Linked DNA regions of Homo sapiens: region 1 is linked to region 2. Evidence: promoter capture Hi-C in human tissues and cell types (Jung and others, 2019). All regions are on one chromosome and are shown on one strand. Each heading gives the region's core, a stretch centred on a gene start or on the middle of the fragment in contact. The rest is flanking DNA. Distances are from core to core; before and after follow the strand shown.

What was found. The method cuts DNA at HindIII sites, captures the fragments that hold promoters and counts their contacts. A contact is called where the count stands out against the background at its distance.
Region 1: a contact is called between the fragment with the promoter of ZNF700 here and the fragment with the promoter of CARM1 in region 2, in 1 of the 25 tissues and cell types used here (pancreas).

What each region holds. Positions count from the first base shown.
Region 1 is chr19:11,921,522-11,928,128 of GRCh38, reverse strand. It overlaps ZNF700 (zinc finger protein 700), which reads right to left and starts at 3,022. Exons shown (of 4, transcript NM_144566.3): 1 at 2,856-3,022. The coding sequence starts at 2,918. It also overlaps a transcript of ZNF69 not described here. RefSeq lists a silencer at 2,560-2,759 and enhancers at 3,150-3,259, 3,310-3,359, 2,807-3,379, 3,536-4,325, 4,326-5,116. The HindIII fragment of the contact is 4,963 bases long and covers 1,021-5,983 here.
Region 2 is chr19:10,870,098-10,876,715 of GRCh38, reverse strand. CARM1 (coactivator associated arginine methyltransferase 1) reads right to left here and starts at 5,163. Exons shown (of 16, transcript NM_199141.2): 1 at 4,794-5,163. The coding sequence starts at 5,013. RefSeq lists enhancers at 1-95, 1,415-1,915, 1,916-2,416, 2,954-3,073, 3,714-3,893 and silencers at 4,634-4,843, 4,934-4,983, 5,114-5,903. The HindIII fragment of the contact is 23,799 bases long and covers 1-6,618 here.

The sequences.
Region 1 (6,607 bases), core at 1,773-4,272, 1.1 Mb before region 2:
TGTAGTCTTAGCTACTTGAGAGGCGGAGGTGCTTGAGCTGGGGAGGTCAAGGCTGCAGTAAGCCATCATCGCACCACTGCTCTAGGCTGGGTCACAGAGCAAGATACTGTCTCAAAAAAAAAAAAAATTGTTGTATCTCATACATCAGCCTTCTATGGAAAACATAATCCTGTTACATTTATTTGCCTTTTGCCTATACAAGTGTTAGGGAAGCAGGTGCCTAGGGGAGCCAGAGTAACACCAATTTAAGTTCAGCTCCATCTTGACACTAACAAGAAACACTCCTTGTCAGTCACAACCCATGATCACAAAATGTTTCCCATGAAGAAAACAGCCTGAAGATGCCTGCAAGTATCCTTACACTCCCACAACAATAGAATGTCCTGATGTCCCAATACCTATAACAATATGTGCTTTCAAGATAATTATAGTTATGTTTTAATGCACTTGGGTGCTAAAATGTAAAGGATAGTTTTCTTTAAATCAACAGAGTAATAAATTTTGTGATGCTGTCAGCCCACATGCACATAGGCACAGGTAGTTTATTCTTTACATAGAAAAGATCCCTACATAAGAAAAACTTAAAGACAGTACGTTCCTCCACTTGCTGTATGAGGATGCCCTACTCTGAAACAGAGAAGCTTTTTCTTTCTTTTTCCTTTTCTATTTATTTATTTATTTATTTATTTATTTATTTATTTATTTAAATAGAGACAGGGTCTCGCTGTGTTGGCCAGGTTGGTCTTGACCTCTTTCCTGTTTGTTTTGGTTTTTGAGATGGGGTCTCACTCTGTTACCCACACTGGAGTGCAGTGGTACATCCTCGGCTGGGCTGCAACCTCTGCCTCTGGGGTTCAAGTGATTCTCTCACATCAGCCTCCTGAACACCTGGGACTACAGGTGCAGGCCACCACACCCGGCTAATTTTTGCTAGTTTTGGAAGAGATGGGGTTTCACTATGTTGCCCAGGCTGGTCTCGAACTCCTGACCTCAAGTTATCCTCCCACCTTGGCCTCCCAAAGTGCTTGGATTACAGGCCTAAGCCATCATGCTGGCCCAGAGTAGCTTTCAATAAACTCTCTTCTCACTGCACTTTGTGACTCGTCTTGAATTCCTTCCTGTGTGAGATTCAAGAACTCTCCTGGGGTCTGATCAGGACCTCTTTTCCTGGTAATACAAGCAAGAACTTAACTTCCAGTTTTGGAGTACTGAGTCTATTTCCCTAGAGTCTGTGTTTTTCCCAAATGGGCCACTGCTATCCTTCCGCTTGAATAAACTCTTCCAACTGAAATCTTGACCTTTCTATTATTTCGGAGTGACAAGTCCAAATAAGGCAACTGCATCTCTGCAACCAATCAAGCATTTATCTGGTTTGTCTCCTCACGTAACTTATAAAAGCTTACCCCTAAACTGGTAAACTAAAAATAAAAACATACCTCTGGCCCGGCGAGATGGCTCACATCTGTAATCCCAGCACTTTGGGAGGCTGAGGTGGGTGGATCACTTGAGGTCAGGAGTTCGAGACCAGCCTGGCCAACATGGTGAAACCCCATCTCTACTAAAAATACAAAAATTAGGAGGGCATAGTGGTGCATGCCTGCAATCCCAGCTACTCAGGAGGCTGAGGCAGGAGAATCACTTGAACCCGGAAGGTGGAGGTTGCAGTGAGCCGAGATCAGGCCATTGCACTCCAGTCTGGGCGACAGGAGACTCCGTCTCAAATAAAAACAAAGTACCTTTCCAGCTAAGTGAAGTGACCGGCTCTTGGCCAACAGGACCCGCAAAAAACCCTGAAAATTGAGTGCCTCTGTATGACAGGATGGGAGGTGAGACAGGTCTCCTTATACCCTCTCCCACACATTCATGTAAAAATAGATAGAATGGAAAAACAGACTGCTTGTGGCAAGAAGATACTAACTTACAAACAAAACCTAAGGCCACGCAAGGCAAAAGTAAAGTCACGCCTCAGAATTCATAAAATCTAGAGAAACAGGTCTGTTTTCTGGCTGGGATGGAATCAAGTGGCAGATAACAGACCCCCTTCCTTCCTACCTCCTCCAAACTTTAGACAAACTTCACACTCTCAACCAGCTGCCACCTACAGAATCCCTCAACCACCTGTGCCTTCTAACCCCCCTTCCACAGGTCCCACCCTTTCTGCCAATGGAACTTACACCTTTCAGGCACTGATTCATCATTTTCCCTGCAATTCCTGTCTCTCTGAAATGAATAAAACCAAACTGTCTTGAGCCGCCTCGGGACCACTTACTCCAGGCTGCTTGGGGTTGTGTTTCCCTCGGCCAAGGTCTCTCCTATTCGGCTCTGAATAAACTTCTTTATTTTACATAGTTTGGCTTTTTCCGTTGACAAACCACAACCCAGGACGGGGTGTTTCTCATTCGTGAATCGCTGTTTGCTCAAATGAACTCTTTAATTGTTAACGTACCTCAGTTTAATTTTTAACAGGAGAAAGTGGGGACTGGGGGCCCCACAGACCACTGCTCCTCCCACGCACGAACCCCACACCCGAGTCAGGATGCCTCCATGACCCTCCCGTTGCTTCCGCACAATCTGGGGAGACGCGGGGCTGCGGGAGCGGAACTGCCCAGAGAGGGCTCCGGGGCAGGGGCCGCGGCCGCAGTCGCCGCGCAGGGACGGGACAGGACGCCCGGGTCCTGGCTGCTGGCCCAGCCCCGTCCAGCGGCCAAGGGGACCGAGGGCCGAACTGCTCAAGGAGGACTCGGTCCCAGACCCCGGAGTCGCCCACAGGGAGGCCCGGGTCCCGCCACAGCCGGTTCCCGCCTGTTCCAGGCAGCCCCTCCCCCGTCTCACGACATCTGGTCCCGCACACGCACCATTTCCCGGCTTTCAGATGTACCGGGGTCCTCTCTACAGCTCCTGTGACTACAGCAGGGCATAGCGCAGGCGACAGAGCGACAGAAGCCTGGGTACAGGCACCAGGTCCCTCTCGGGCTGGTCTGACCGGTTACCAACCGCCGCCCGCGCAGCGAGGAAGGTGAGGAAAGCGACCCCCTCCATTTCCGGATGAACTGTGGGCAGTGCCACGCCCCAGCACCTCTGATTGGATGAAATACTAGGTCCCGCCCCCCACATCTGAGTGACAGCTGAAGCCCTGGGTATCAGGCCCCGCAGAGCCAGACTGACGGATTCTAGCCACAGCTTCTCTAAGGGCGAGCTGCTTTCTGCACTCTGGTTATTGGATATTTGCATTTCAGCCAAACTTGCTATTGATAGAAGAGAACACTAGCGTCATCCTCACTCAAGGGACAGTCCCCGCTCCTTCGTTCTGCACGGGGTCACAGGAGTGTGCAGGGAATTTCAGACTCAGTGTCCATAGGAGCCAACTGCTGGCCTCAGAGCAGCAGGGGAACCGAGACCAGGCCAGGCACGACTGCACCAGGAGGAGAGGCATATGTCCTCGAGCGGGCCGGAATTGGGGATGAGGCGTGGCCAAGCCTTGCTCACACACCCCCATCCCCTTGTGAAAATGCTTCCTCCTTTCAGATCTTCATTTTCACCAGCAGGAAACTCTCACCAGGTTTTGTTTCTGACCTAAGTAAACTGTCAACTTCATGAACCCTTTATCCAGGTGACGCCACCAAACAATTCTGTCTCTAGCTCTAGCCTGATCTTCACACATTTTCTTTTCTTTCTTTCTTTTTTTTTTTTTTTTTTTGAGACGGAGTCTTGCTCTGTAGCCCAGGCTGGAGTGCAGTGGTGCGATCTCGACTCACTGCAAGCTCCGCCTCCCGAGTTCACGCCATTCTCTTACCTCGGCCTCCGGAGTAGCTGGGATTAAAGGCGCCCGCCACCACGCCCGGCTAATATTTTGTATTTTCAGTGGAGACGGGGTTTCACCGTGTTAGCCAGGATGGTCTCGATCTTCTGACCTCTTGATCCGCCCGCCTCGGCCCCGCAAAGTGCTGGGATTACAGGCGTGAGCCACCGCGCCCGGCCACACATTTTCTTTATCTATACAAATAACTCTGACCCCAACGACCCCATGCATGTCAAACCCCAAACCCTGCCCAGAAGACAGCTCCAGAGGTACAACACCAGAAAGGACAGAGACGCCACAAATGCGTCTGCACATGGGTCTTCTGCTTTCCAGGGCTCTGCAGCTTCTCGGAATCCACACCCTTTCTGGAGCTGCTCTGAGCAGCTGGAGGCCACTTGTAGAAGGGGGTGGGCTGCCCGCGAAGCCCCCAGGGAAACTCTCTTTCCCTCCCTTTGCAGGCTGCAGAGACTGTCCTCAACGTGGAATCACTGGCCTTGGGCTCTGCTGCCCCCTGCAGGTTATTCAGCTACTTCTCACCCCATCGATTAGTTTCGCGAGACAAACACCTTCAATCCCATTGTGTAAATAAGACACCAGCAGAGTCCCTGCTCTCCTCCTATGCTTATGTATAAAGTGGGGGAGGAAAAATCTAAGATAACTTAAGGGCATTTGAAAGACTTCCAGATCGCGGTGGAGGTGGCAGCTGAGGGACTCGCAGTCAATGACACTGCAGCACCTCCAGGCCAGGCTGGTGGGAGAGAGGGTGGAGAGCTGGAGATGGATGTGGATAGGTGGAGGGAGCTGCCCTGGGAACTGGGCTCTGCAGCAGTGCGGCTCTAGGGCCCGGAGCCCGGGAGAGCAGAGATGGGGGCTCCCAGGACAGGAAACTCAGGGAGGAGAGAGTCGGGTGGCTTCCATGGGACGGGGTGCTGTTGCAGCTTGTGTGAGCCAGTAGCTATCATAACTAAGCCCAATCGGGACGTGAAAACTTGGATTCCGTGGGAATTTATGAAGAGGAAGGCTCTGATGACAAAGAAGTCATCGATGAGGAGGGGGATGAGGGTCACTGGCAAGCTTGCTTCCTTATGGAAAGAAAAGTGAACACCCAACTACTGCTGCAAAATGGGATCAAAGGATGAGACTCTCGCTGTCAGGGAATAAACTGCTGCAGAACTCTTAGAGATTGCAAAGACCTTTCAACAACAGCCTGGGAGGCCAGGTGCCATGGCTCATGCCTGCAATCCCAACATTTTGGGAGGCCAAAGTGGCAGGATCACTTGAAGCCCGAAGTTGAAGACCACCCTGAGCAGTGAAGTGAGACACTCCCATCTCCATAAATCTATTTTTTAATTAGCCAGGAGAGGTGGTGTGTACCTGTAATCACAGCTACTCAGGAGGCTGAGGCAGGAGGATCACTTGAGCCCCAAAGTTTGAGGCTGCTGTGAGCTGTGATCAGGTTACTGAACTTCAGCAAGACACTGTCTCAAAAAAAAAAAAAATCAAAAACAAAAAAACCCATAAAAAGCCCACCAGACTCCCCGGGGAAACCCTGACCCCCTTGGATGGTCTAATTGTAAAACACAGCAGGTGGTATTTCCTTATGGACTGGATCATTCTGGCCACATAAGAGGCTTGGCCTACTGAGGATTTACCAGGCGGATGACCTCCTTGCAGTCAATGGAAAAGGCCCCTGGTGAAACCATCCCTTTAAACTTTATCAAATTCATCAGGGAGGATGGGAGGAGAAAACTTAAACCAAGCTGCAGAACCTTCAGCATTAATCATTAAGTCAGCTTGTTCCCTGAACTTCCTCATATTTGCTTCATACCTAGTGTCCTAGAATCCCATTGTTGTGGTAAACTGAGGAAGGAGAGACCAATATGGAGTACAGGAGGATTTGTTTATATTTTAGGTACGCACTGGCTCAGACGATTCATATCCAAAAAGCTGAGGACTGAACGAAGACAAAGTGGGGTTTTTATACGCTGTCTTACAGATGCCAAACAAAAGCAGTTAATCATACAGTGACAGGTCATGTAATCTATAGCATAACATAATTTATGACCTTGCATAGCCAGTGTCCTTGTAGCTGCATTGAAAGAAAAACAAGAACTGGCTAAATACAGACATTTGTAAAACATAATAATGCTTAAGAAGACTTGCAAAAGAGTAACAGTAAAAGAATCTGTCTCTTTTTTTTTTTTCCTTCAACATTGCTCTGGAAGGGAGGGGTGTCTGGAGCCCATTCCTTTGGCCTTGGCTATTTGGACATCGTTATCTTCTTGATAAGGTCCTGGAAGTGAGCTGCTAGGCAGAGGAAAACTTGTGCTTTTCTTTTTTCTTTTTAACCCTTGCCTTGCCACACTCTGGGCCTTAGCTTTTACTTTTCTTGGAGTAAATAAATTCAGTACTTATTATTTTTAAATTTCTGCCTCACGATGGACCCTAAATGATAGTTCCTGTTAACTGCTCTATAGATAATAACTTGAACGTTAGATGTTTTCCCTTTGAAATATTTCCATTTCAGGGCCGGGCGCAGTGGCTCATGCCTGTAATCCCAGCACTTTGGGAGGTCGAGGCAGGTGGATCACCTGAGGTCAGGAGTTCAAGACTAGCCTGGCCAAGATGGTGAAACCCTGTCTCTACTAAAAATACAAAAATTAGCTGGGCGTAGTGGCAGGTGCCTGTAATCCCAGCTACTCAGGAGGCTGAGGCAGAGAATCGCTTGAACCCGGGAGTTGGAAGGTTGCAGTGAGCCGAGATTATGCCACTGCACTCCAGCCTGGATGACAGAGTGAGACTCTGTCT
Region 2 (6,618 bases), core at 3,914-6,413:
ACGCCAAAGGGCCTCCCCCTCTGCACAGGGAAAATGGCCTGGTGTTGGTAGTTGCCATTTGGCCAATCTCATGGACGTAGGCCAGGGTGACTTCAGATGGCAAGAAGTAACTGTTCACTACAGAGTGACAGAGACAGGCCCTTCTGCAGCTGTCATCCTTCCCCTGGAGGGTGCAGACGTCAAGGAACAGGGCTGGAAGTCCTCCCCACGTGCCTCTCCTGGGCCTCCTATGTTAGGTACAGATCATGGCCCAGGACTCCCTCCCATGGCCGGTGAGCCAAGACAGCGGGGCAGCCCTGGAGCATAGGGGGCTCCTCCTAGAAAAGCTAGCTCATTCCCATGCCACACCAACGAACACTGCTGTCAGTAACATGGACATAAATATTTATTGGCCGGGCGCAGTGGCTCACGTCTGTAATCCTAGCACTTTGGGAGGCCAAGGCAGGAGGACTGCTTGAGCCCAGGAGTTCAAGACCAGCCTGGGCAAAATAGTGAGACCGCATCGCTAGAAGAAACTTAAAAATTAGCCATATGTGAGGCTGGTGGCGGTGGCTCACACCTGTAATCCCAGCACTTTAGGAGGCCAAGGTGGGCGGATCACCTGAGGTCAGGAGTTCGAGACCAGCCTGACCAACACGGAGAAACCCCATCTCTACTAAAAATACAAAAAAAATTAACCGGGCATGGTGGCACATGCCTCTAATCCCTGTAATCCCAGGACTTTGGGAGGCCAAAGCAGGCGAATCGCTCGAACCCGGGAGGCAGAGGTTGCAGTGAGCCGAGATCACGCCATTGCACTCCAGCCTGGGCAAAATTCCATCTCAAAAAAAAAAAAAAGACAGACATCCAAGTTGTAACCCCTGGAATCTGTGAAGGTGACCTTATTAGGAAATAGGGTCTTTGCAGATAAGGATCTTGAGATGAGATCATCCTAGATATAAAGTGGGCCCTAAATCCAATGCCCAGTGTCCTTATAAGAAAAGAACAGCTGGGGCCGGGCACGGTGGCTCAAGCCTGTAATCCCAGCACTTTGGGAGGCCAAGGTGGGCAGATCACGAGGTCAGGAGATGGAGACCATCCTGGCTAACACGGTGAAACCCCGTCTCTACTAAAAATACAAAGAATTAGCCGGGCGTGGTGGCGGGCGCCTGTAGTCCCAGCTACCCGGGAGGCTGAGGCAGGAGAATGGCCTGAACCCAGGAGGCAGAGCTTGCAGTAAGCGGAGATCGCGCAATTGCACTTCAGCCTGGGTGACAGAGCCAGACTCCGTCTCAAAAAAAAAAAGAAAAGAAAAGAACAGCTGAGGTGGGAGGATCACTTGAGCCTAGGAGTTCGAGACCAGCCTATAACACGGCGAGACTCCATCTCACTTTAAAAAAAAAAGGAAAAAAGAGGACACAAGACACAGGAGTGAAGACAGACGCAGGGACTTGGGTTTCGCTGCTGCAAATCAAGCAACAGCTGGATCCACTGCAATCTGGAAGATGCAAGGATTTTCCTGTAGAACCTCTCCAGGGATTGTGGCCCTGCCAGTACCATGATTTCAGACTTCTGACCATGAACTGAGAGAGAATCCATTCCTGTTGTCTTAAACCAAAAATCTGTCATAATTTGTTATTGCAGCCATGGGAAATTAATACACCCAGCACTGATCACCTCCAACTCCAGAACCCATGCTTTTTTTTTTTTTTTCAGACAGGGTCTTGCTCTGTCACCCAGGCTGACATGCAGTGGTGCAATCTCAGCTCACTGTAACCTCTGCTTCCCTGGTTCAAGCGATCCTCCCACCTCATCCTCCGGAGTAGCTGGGACTACAGTCGCAGGTACCACCACACCTGGCTAATTTTTGCATTTTTAGCAGAGACGAGATTTTGCCATGTTGGCCAAGCTGGTCTCAACCTCCTGACCTCAAGTGATTCGCCTGCCTCAACCTCTCAAAGTGCTGGGATTACAGGTGTGAGCCACCACGCCTGGCCAAGAACCCATGTTTTTTATCTCCATATCAATGTTACTTAAGGATAAAGAGGGCGGTGCGGTGGCTCATGCCTGTAATTCCAGGACTGTGGGAGGCCAAGGAGGGAGGATCACTTGAGCCCAGGAGTTTGAGACCAGCCTGGCCAACACAGTGAAAACCCTTTCTCTACAAAAAATATGAAAGATTAGCTGGGTGTGGCACATGCCTGTGGTCCCAGCTACTAGGGAGGCTGAGGTATGAGGATCACTTTAGCCATGGAAGGCTGCAGTGAGCTGAGACTGAGACTGTACCACTGCACTCCAGTCTGAGCAACAGAGTGAGGCCCTGTCTGAAAAAATAAAAAATAAAAATAAAAAAAATAAAAAAGAAAGAAAAAAAACAAAAAAGTGTAAAAAAAAATTATTTCAGAACCCTAAGGATATATCATCTGGGAATCTGGGACTGAGGCTCTCTGAGGAATGTGGACTTTCTCCTTTTTATGAATGTTTCCGGTCAGGTGGGGTGGCTCACACCTGTAATCCCAGCATTCTGGGAGGCAGGAAGATCACTTGAGCTCAGAAGTTGGAGACCAGCCTGGGCAACACAGTGACATAGTGAAACCTTGTCTCTAATAATAAAAAATGTTTCAGTTACCAATTACCTCTCAAAGAGAAGTGCTGTCTTAATAACAAGTAATACTTTCAAGAGTATCAACAAAACAAAAACAAAAACACAAATACAAACACAAAATGTTACTCCAGGAATAAGATGGTAGGAACATCTCACTATGTTGCCAATACATCTATAAGACTAAAATTGTTCTGGCCGGGCGGGGTGGCTCATGCCTGTAATCCCAGCACTTTGGGAGGCCAAGGCGGGTGGATCACGAGGTCAGGAGATCAAGACCATCCTGGCTAACATGGTGAAACCCCGTCTCTACTAAAAACACAAAAAATTAGCCGGGCATGGCGGCAGGCGCCTGTAGTCCCAGCTACTCGGGAGGCTGAGGCAGGAGAATGGCGTGAACCCAGGTGGCAGAGCTTGCAGTGAGCCGAGATTGAGCCACTGCACTTCAGCCTGGGGGACCGAGCAAGACTCTGTCTCAAAAAAAAAAAAAAAAAAAAAAAAAAAAAAAAACTAAACTAAAATTGTTCTAAAAAAAATTTTTTTTTTGAGATGGAGTCTCACTCTGTCTCCCCGGCTGGAGTGCAATGGCACGATCTCAGCTCATTGCAACCTCTGCCTCCCAGGTTCAAGTGATTCTCCTGCCTCTGCCTCCCGAGTAGCTGGGACAGGCACATGTCACCACACCCCGCTGTTTTGTATTTTTAGTAGAGACGGGGTTTCACCATGTTGGCCAGGCTGGTCTCGAACTCCTGACCTCAAGTGATCCTCCCAAAGTGCTTAGCCTCCCAAAGTGCTGAGCTACCCCGCCTGGTCCTAAAAAAATTTTTTAAAGGTTTACTTAAAAATGATAGCCAACTCTCCTGGAACTCCTTTGAGGATAAGCCCTGGGACCCTAGTTTTGGAAACGCTGCCCCGCTTTGTTCTGTTCAGGACAAAGTTGGCTACCAATGCTTGCCCAGTGAATAGGTTTTGCTTATGATCTGGGGTTCTGTTGAGCTGAGTGTCTGCCTTGAACTCTGAAACCCCCGCTGAAATACCCTCCTTCCCCTCTCATCTGGTCCAAGAAGACCCAGGCTCTGCACCAGCAAAAAGAGACGGCACCCTCGGACAGCAGACACAACTCCTTTAGTCCACGTTTTCAAAGTCGAGGTGCAGGGAAAACCCAGTGTGAACGGACTGCTCCTCGGGCTTTCCTTTAATCGGGCCGTTTCCAAAGTGGCAAAAAATTCACACAGGACCCAAGCTAGCTAGAGGCCTCCTGAGGGGTTCCCCAGGGCATCAGTGCAAGAAGCCCTGAAAGACAAAGCCAAATGACACAGAGTAGCAAAATGTGAACAAGGAATCAAAGAGAAGAGATAAGAAGGAGTAACAAGAAGAAGAATGAACTACAAAGACTGGGAGCGGGGGTGGGGGGTGCTGGCAAACGCATTTGTGATTTTCTTTTCCCCCCAGTGAAATGTCAGTTTTGAAAGCAGCTTCGGAAAATGTAACCAGCTTCTCACATCCCCCAAAAGAAGATGGGAGGAGGCTGTTAGCTCTTACTTCGAAGCCCGGCATCAGGAAGGGGCCCGTCCCGTCCACGTTTCCACGAGGAGCTCACCCTGCGGCTCCCACCGTCCCCGCATGGGCCCTCTCCCCAGATCCTGAAGTTTCCCATTCGGGGGTCCTGAACGCCACACCTCGCACAGCGGTGGAACTCGGTACTCGCGGGCGCCCCAGACCAGCAAACACTTTCCAACCGTCCTGAGCTATCCAGGGGGTCCCCAGAGGGATCCCGGGCCGCCCACGCCCCACCCTCCTCCCTGCAGAGGCGGCCACGCCCGCCCCCGAGACGCCCACCTCTCCCGCACCCCGGACCTCCCTCCCCCACGCTTAAGCCCACCACGCCTGGCGTCCTCCAAATTCCCCTTCCACTCAGAGCCCCCCACTTCCTGCTCACCCACCCCTCCCAAATCTCAGGCCCTTCACTCCCCATTTCGCGCTCCCTTGCTCACTCTGGGCACCTTGCCCCTCCGGCCACCACGCACGCCCTCTTTTCTCTGTCTGTCCCCTGGCACCGGCCCTCCACGGTCGCTCCCTGCAGGCCACCGGCTCAGTCCCGGGGACCCCACGCCAGGCCCCCGCGCTCAGGGCCCCTCCCCGCCGGCCCCCGCCCCGGGCCGGCCTCGTGAGCAGCCCCGGCCCTGCGCCTGCCCCGGGGCCCCGTACTCACGGCTGTAGAGGGCGATGCCCGCCGAGTCCGGGCCGGCGCGCACCTCGAGGCGCAGCGCCTGCTGCTCCGCGTGCCGCTGGATCTCGCCGTTCGCGTCGCCGATGGTGAGGAGGCGGGCGCCGGGGAACACCGACACGGTAGCGCAGGGCCCCGCGCCGCCCGGGACCGCCGACCCCGCGCCGCCCGCGCCCGGCCCCACCGCCGCCGCCGCCGCTGCCATCTTAGATCCGGCTCCAGGCCCCGCCGCCGCCGCCGCTGCGCCCGGGCCCAGGCCGCCGCCGCTGCCGCCGCCGCCGCCGCCGCCGCCGCCGCCGCCGCCGCCGCCGCCGCCGCTGCCGCTACCGCCGCCGCAGCCGCCGTGCAGGCCGAGGCCGAGCCGGGCAGCGCCGCCTGCCGGCCACGCGCCGCCTCGCCGCCGCCGCCGCCACCGTCGCCGCGGCCCGGCCCCGTGGCGCAGCGCCCTCTGCCGGCCGTCCTGGGCGCGGGGAGCTAGCGAGCGAACGAGAGGGCACCCCGTGGGGCGGGACCGGCTACGCCCCGCCCCGCGAGAACGGTCGCCGCTTTGTGAGGTGGCTCCACCGCCCGGGAACTGCGGGGCGGGAGGGTACGTCGGGGGCGGTGCTCGGGCGCGCGGGCACGCCCCTCGGAGGCCTGGGCCCCGCCCCCAGGCCGGCGCCTCATTAACGGCTGCTTTCGAGTGAGGCGGTGCGGGGACGGCGGGGGCGGTGCTCGGCCGCGTGGACACGCCCTGTACCCCGCCCCACACAAGCAGCCGCGCGTCGTGATGCGGCTTCCCTGCCCCGACCTGGACACGCCCCTGAGACTGGGCCCCACCCCCCCGGGCCCGCCCGGCTTTGTGAGGCAGCCCTCAGGGAGGCGTGGCCCAGCCGCGACGAGGCCCCGCCCCCGTGCCTGCCCGCGCCCTCCCACCCGGACTCGCTTTGTCAGCCGCCCCGCTCTGGGGAATGGGCGGGGGAAAGGGCGTGGCCAGCGCCCGGGCCTCGCCCCCAACCCTTCCCCCCACCGCCCCCGCACCGACGATTTCCGATGAGCCCTGGCCTCCAGGAGCAACCTGAGCCCGGTTGAAAGGACCCCTCCCCGACATTCGACCGCTCCTCCTCCCTTCCCCATCATCTCTGCCCACATTGCCTTCTTAATCCTTAATGTTTGACTGTCTCCTTTCGCACAAGATATCCTTTGACCCCCTCCTCTCTCAGCCCCTCCTCCAACGATGCTGAGTCCAGCCTGGCCCGGCGCAGGGCCCCTCTCCCGCCACACAAACCCGTCTTCTCTCTGCATCCCCCTTCATTTTGGGTGGCCCCATCTCTTTTGGGCGACCCAGTGAGCTTGGGCCACTTCCTAGCACTCCAGCTTTAACTCTTCCCTAGACCTCATTTACGCCTCATTCCTTTTTTTTTTTTTTTTTTTTCTTTGAGACGGAGTCTCGCTCTGTCTCCCAGGCTGGAGTGCAATGGCTCGATCTCAGCTCACCGCAACCTCCGCCTCCCGGGTTCAAGTGATTCTCCTGCCTCAGCCTCCCGAGTAGCTGGGACTACAGGCATGCTCTACCACGCCCAGCTAATTTTTTATTTTTAGTAGAGACGAGGTTTCACCATGTTGGTCAGGCTGGTCTTGAACTCCTGACTTCAGGTGATCCGCCCGCCTCGGCATCCCAAAGTGCTGGGCCTACAGGCATGAGCCACCGCGCCCGGCCCCTTTTGTTTTTTGAGACAGGGTCTCACTGTGTTGCCCAGGCTAGAGTGCAGTGGTGCCATCATAGCTTACTGCAGCCTCAACCTCCTGGGCTCAAGCAACCCCCTGCCTC